Regions from separate parts of the Homo sapiens genome. Here region 1 is linked to region 2. The links are contacts of gene promoters, found by promoter capture Hi-C in human tissues and cell types (Jung and others, 2019). All regions are on one chromosome and are shown on one strand. The core of a region is centred on a gene start or on the middle of the fragment in contact, and the rest is flanking DNA. Distances in the headings are between cores, read along the strand shown.

Region 1 (2,816 bases), core at 37-2,536, 83 kb after region 2:
GATGGAGTCTCGCTCTGTCCCCCAGGCTGGAGTGCAGTGGCATGATCTTGGCTCACTGCAACCTCTGCCTCCCAAGTTCAAGCAATTCTCTGCCTCAGCCTCTTGAGTAGCTGAGATAACAGGCACCTGCCACCATGCCCGGCTTATTTATTATTATTATTTTTTGTATTTTTAGTAGAGACGGGGTTTCACCATCTTGGCCAGGCTGGTCTTGAACTCCTGACCTCAAGTGATCCACCTGCCTTGGCCTCCCAAAGTGCTGGGATTACAGGCGTGAGCCACTGCGCCTGGCCTCCCAATCCATTTTTAGGGTGCCATGCCCTGCCTCCCACCTCTACCCTATTCCATACTGTCCCCAACCCAGTTCACTGGCTGCGTGCCCAACCTGGGCAGCTGTCCCTGAGCCTGGGGCTGTAGTCCAGCAGCTACCTGGGGCTGGGACTGGGGCTGGGGTTGGGGAGGAGCCGCCTGTTGCTGCTGTTGCTGCTGGTGTTGCTGTTGTTGCTGTTGCTGCTGCTGCTGTTGCTGTTGCTGCTGCTGCTGCTGCTGCTGTTGCTGTTGCTGCTGCTGCTATAAGAACACAAAAGATACTTCAGAAGGAGCAGAGGGAGGAAGCTAAGCCTCAGAACTAAAGGGCTGAGGGCAGGGGATGAGGAAGCAGGGTGGGAGCTCGGGGTCTACTGCCTTCCCTTTTTAGACAGCTGCACAGAAAGAAACCAAATCTAGGGTACCCAGCAGACAATGTCCAACTCTCTCCCACTATGATCCCCAGAAAACAAAAAGGGGGAGGGTAGAAAACTTCTCCAGCACCACTAGAGGCCAGCCGCTCTGCTAGGTGTTTTGGTACACTGCCTTGTTTAGTCTCGGTAACTGTGTGGGAAGAACTTGTGCCTCTCTTCCTCCCTGGGCTCCCAGGTCCCAGATGAAATCCCAGTGCCTTACCCGCAGGATCTGCTGCTGCTGCTGCTGCCGGATGTGGTACTGCTGCTGCTGCTGCTGCTGTTGCTGTTGCTGCTGCTGCTGCTGTTGCTGTTGCTGCTGTTGCTGCTGCTGCTGCTGCTCAGGTAGGATGGCTGTTGAACGGACGCCTGCCTGGACGCCCTGGGCACTCATTGGAGTCATGGTACTTATCATGGGTGTCTGCTGCAGTGTCTGGTGTGAAAACCTCCAAAGATAAGAGGGTCAGAGGTCAAGGCATGAGGGAGGTGAGGAGAGGGGGTCAGTATAAACCTTGGGTCCCTGACCTGAAAGAAACGTTAGCAGGTTATTTCATTCATTCCTCGTGTCACTAACCAGACTTCCAGTCTGGGGAATAAGTTGCATAAGATGATACTCTATTTTAGTGTCTCATAACCTTAATGGTTAGGAATTTTTCAATTCTGCATTAGCTATTTTTCTGTTACAAAAATGAAAAATAGGGCTGGGTGCGGTGGCTCACACCTGTAATCCCAGCACTTTGGGAGGCTAAGGTGGGTGGATCACTTGAGGTCAGGAGTTCTAGACCAGCCTGGCAACATGGTGAAACCCCATCTCTAGCAAAAATACAAAAAAAAATAGCTGAGCGTGGTAGTGGATGCCTGTAATCCCAGCTACTCAGGAGGCTGAGGCAGGAGAATTGCTTGAACCTGGGAGGTGGAAGTTGCAGTGAGCCAAGATTGCACCACTGCACTCCAGCCTGGATGACAGAGCGAGACTCCATCTCAAAAAAAAAAAAAAAAAGAAAGAAAAGAAAAGAAAAAAATAGTCTTAGCACAAGATAGGCATTCTATAAACACTCATTGAGGTTTTTTGCTGTTGCTGTTGTTGTTCCCAAATAACATTTCAAGTTGTTCTACCACATGTGTATATCACTTCAAGAGTCTACTGGCCAGGCTCCCCGTCTCAAGTCTTCTTTTTTTTTTGAGACAGAGTCTCACTCTGTTGCCCAGGCTGGAGTGCAATGATGCGATCTCGGCTCACTGCAACCTCCACCTCTCAGGTTCAAGTGATTCTCTTGCCTCAGCCCCCCAAGTAGCTGGGATTACAGGCACATGCCACCACACCCAGATAATTTTTGTATTTTTAGTAGAGACGGGATTTCACCATGTTGACCAGGCTGGTCTCGAACTCCTGATCTTAGGTGATCTGCCTGCCTGGGCCTCCCAAAGTACTGGGATTACAGGCATGAGCCACCGTGCCTGGCCTGAAGTCTTCTTCTTGCACCTTCCAGTACACATCCTATCCATTCATTCCAAGGAACCTTGCAACATACCCAACTCCTCCTATCACTCTTCTGATCAAAAGAGCCCTTTCTGGGACTGCGTCTCAATTCTTCGGCTGAGCATTCAAGGCCATCTCTCAGCCTGCCCCCTCCTAGCCTAGCCCCAGTGACTTCCCCAGCACAGATTTTACACTCCATCCAGGCCCTTCTCCCCAGGCACCATCCTCATTCTGGTCCCCATGTCTTTGTTCACGTTACATCCTCTACCTGGAATGCCCTTTCTTTTCCTCTTCTCCACAAATCCCAATCACAGCTATTCTTCAGAGGCCAACTCAAGTCTGACCTCCTTCATGAAACATTCTCTGATGAGTCAGGCCCACAGATATTACCACGTACTTTTTCTCAATCCACATTTTACCTCATAGCATACAACTGCATACCTGATTATATCTTTGCTCAGAGTGTTCTCTCAATATTCTTCTATAAGTCTCATCTCCCCAGCTATAGTAAAGATTCTTTGTAGTGAGGAACTATGTATCGTGGGGGTTTTTTTTGCTATCTTTCTTCACCTCACCCAGTCCTGGTATAGTGCTGGCCACACAATGGGCAGTTAGCC
Region 2 (2,839 bases), core at 1-2,500:
CCTGCTCACTCAGCAGCTTGTTGATCTCATTCTGCTTGTATTCAGGTGAGAGGCGGTGGCCGAAGCCCGAGCCCTTGCGGGAAGGTGGATTGGAGCGGCGCTGGGCTCGGCGGGCACAGGCCCGGATGATGAGGTACACCACCTCGGCCACATTGAGGATGATGCAGATGCCAGAGGCAGCTAGCATGAAGACGGTGAAGACGGTTTTCTCGGTGGGGCGGGACACGAAGCAGTCCACTGTGTTGGGGCAGGGGTAGACGTCGCACTTGACCAGCCGCACCATGGCATAGCCAGGGTAGAGCAGATAAAAGACATACATGAAGACGGCCTCAAACAACAGCCGGAACACCACGCTGATGACATAGGTCCACCACAGTGTCCCTGAGATGTGGACCTTGTGCCTCTTCACCTCCTCCAGGTGTAGGGGGTCCCCATGGCCCTCAAGCCGTAGCATTTTCTTCTCTATGTGTTGCTGGTGAGCCACGTGCATGGCCACGAGGAGAGCTGGGGTGGAAACTAGGATGAGCTGCAGGGACCACAGCCGCACATGGGAGATGGGGAAGAATTGGTCATAGCAAACGCTGTTGCAGCCAGGCTGGAGTGTGTTGCAGATGAAGGAAGATTTCTCATCACCCCACACACTCTCTGCAGCCACCACCAGCACCATGATTCTGAAGATGAAGATGACCGAGAGCCATACTCGGCCAATGGCAGTAGAATGCCGGTTCACGCCACTGAGCAAGGTGTACAAACCTGTCCAGTTCATCCTGCCTCATTCACACCTGCAAAACACCAGCCATGAAGCAAGCTGTCAGAAAGCTGGGGTGGAAAGTCGGGCGCCATAGCACTGCCTGCGCACCCCCCCTCAACTCTTCCAAGAGCCAGTAGCAGGAAAGGAAGGATGGTCATGTCTTTCCTCGTCACCCCATCTCCCTTGCCAGCTTCTCCTCCTCCTCACTCACTTGACTTGACCTCCCTGAGCCCCATCCCCCTTCTTCGCTTTCATCCAACATTCTTTTCCCGCCAGCCCCTTTCTTTGCCAAGCCCATCTTGTTCCGATATCAGCCATCCCCTATGGCTCCCTGTCCCCTAGCTCCTTAACTCCAGACCTGGGGCAAACTCAACAAAGCCCTCTTACCTTGGGGAGCGCCTATCCCTGAGGCCACCCAGACAGGTCCCCTATGGTCTCATGTCTGTGCAGGGGGAGTGGTCCCTGGGCTCCGCGCCTGCGTCCCAATTCATCACCGCCCGGTGCTGGGGAGTCATATGCTGCTTTATACCCAGTGTCTGCACAATGAGACCTTTGTGGGGCTCTGAACAACGCCCTTTAGAATTCAGATCAAACGCCCTGACTTCCGCCCACCCTACACACAGAGCACTTGTGTCCCAGCGCCGGACACCCAGCCTGCACCCACCTGTTCTGTGCCCGCCCGGTCCATCGCCGCACCCGCCCCATAGCCCCACCAGAAGAATGGCCACGGGGGGGCGGGGGGAGGGAGATAAAACACAGGCAGGTGGATGTGAAGAGGGGACCCCAGGGGACCCAGAGGCTCTGGGCTGAGGCCCTCCCCCATGGCCCCGTCAGAAGCTTAAGGTCACCAGGATTTTCCCTGAGGCTTAGATCCTCTCCGGAATATGGAGAGGAAAGAGGACAGGAAAGAGAGCTCATTTATGAAGCCACAAACTGTGCTGAGCGTTGTTCCATACATTTTTTCTTTCGACCCATTTAGGAAGCCTGTTATCCCATTTTCCAGATGAAGAAGCTGAAGCTCAGATAAGTAACTCCTCAAGGTCACACCGTTCCAAAGCGGTAGGATAGGTAGGATGAAACAATGTATCTGAGACAGAAGTCTTTCTACAGCAGGCTCCCTGTGCTTCTGCAGATAGTGTCTGTAGAAAGCAAAGGCTAACCATTAAAAAAAAAAAAAAAAAAAGGCTGGGCGCCGTTGCTCACGCCTGTAATCCCAGCACTTTAGGAGGCTGAAGTGGGCAGATCACTTGAGGTCAGGAGATCAAGACCATCCTGGCTAACAATGTGAAACCCCATCTCTACTAAAAATACAAAAAATTAGCCGTGTGTGGTGGCGCATGCCTGTAATCCCAGCTGCTGGGTGGGAGAATCACTGGAACCCAGGAGGCAGAGGTTGCAGTGGGCCAAGATTGCACCACTGCACTCCAGTCCGGGCGACAGAGCAAGACTCCGTCTCAAAAAAAAAAAAAAATCTTCTCAGGAAAAGATAACAAAGTTGCTTTGGGGGAATAAATGGTCTGTCAAACCCAAGATCTCTCCTTTTTCTCCCTAATGCTGTGGGTTGTTTTTTATTAGAGGGTGGGGACAAGGTCTGGCTATATCACTAAGGCTAGAGTGCAGTGGCACAATCACTGCTCACTGCAGCCTTGACCTCCTGGGCTCCAGCGATCCTCCCACCTCAGCCTCTCAATTAGCTGGGACCACAGGTATGTGTCACCATGCCCAGCTAATTTTTCAATTTTTTTTTTTTGTAGAGATGGGGGGCTTGCTATGTTGCCCAGGCTGGTCTTGAACTCCTGGGCTCAAGCGATCTTCCCACTTTTGCCTCCCAAAGTGTTGGGTTTACAGGTGTGAGCCACCTTGAGCAGTCCCCAATGCTGTTGTTGACCTATAGGGTCTGTCTGAGACCCCATTGCTGCCCAGCCCCCAACCCCAAGTGCATATTGCAACCTCGTGGTTTCAGGAGCTTGCCAGTTGCTCTAGGGAGGAAATTCTCCTCTATCCCTTAGGCAGGCTAAGAAGGCTTCTCCCACCTCTTGCCACTTCTGCCATTAAGTTGCAAGGAGATCATACTAGCAGCAGGAAACT

The links. Contacts are between HindIII fragments. The study calls those that stand out against the background at their distance.
Region 1: a contact is called between a fragment that was not itself captured here and the fragment with the promoter of GJB1 in region 2, in 2 of the 25 tissues and cell types used here (adrenal gland and neural progenitor cells).

Annotation. Positions count from the first base shown.
Region 1 is chrX:71,138,984-71,141,799 of GRCh38, reverse strand. MED12 (mediator complex subunit 12) reads right to left here. Exons shown (of 45, transcript NM_005120.3): 42 at 943-1,165; 43 at 430-570. Among named protein-coding and RNA genes, the nearest start is that of NLGN3, 4.4 kb to the left of the region's middle. The HindIII fragment of the contact is 7,777 bases long and covers 1-2,816 here.
Region 2 is chrX:71,221,635-71,224,473 of GRCh38, reverse strand. GJB1 (gap junction protein beta 1) reads right to left here and starts at 1,250. Exons shown (of 2, transcript NM_000166.6): 1 at 1,139-1,250; 2 at 1-782. The coding sequence starts at 766. The HindIII fragment of the contact is 28,615 bases long and covers 1-2,839 here.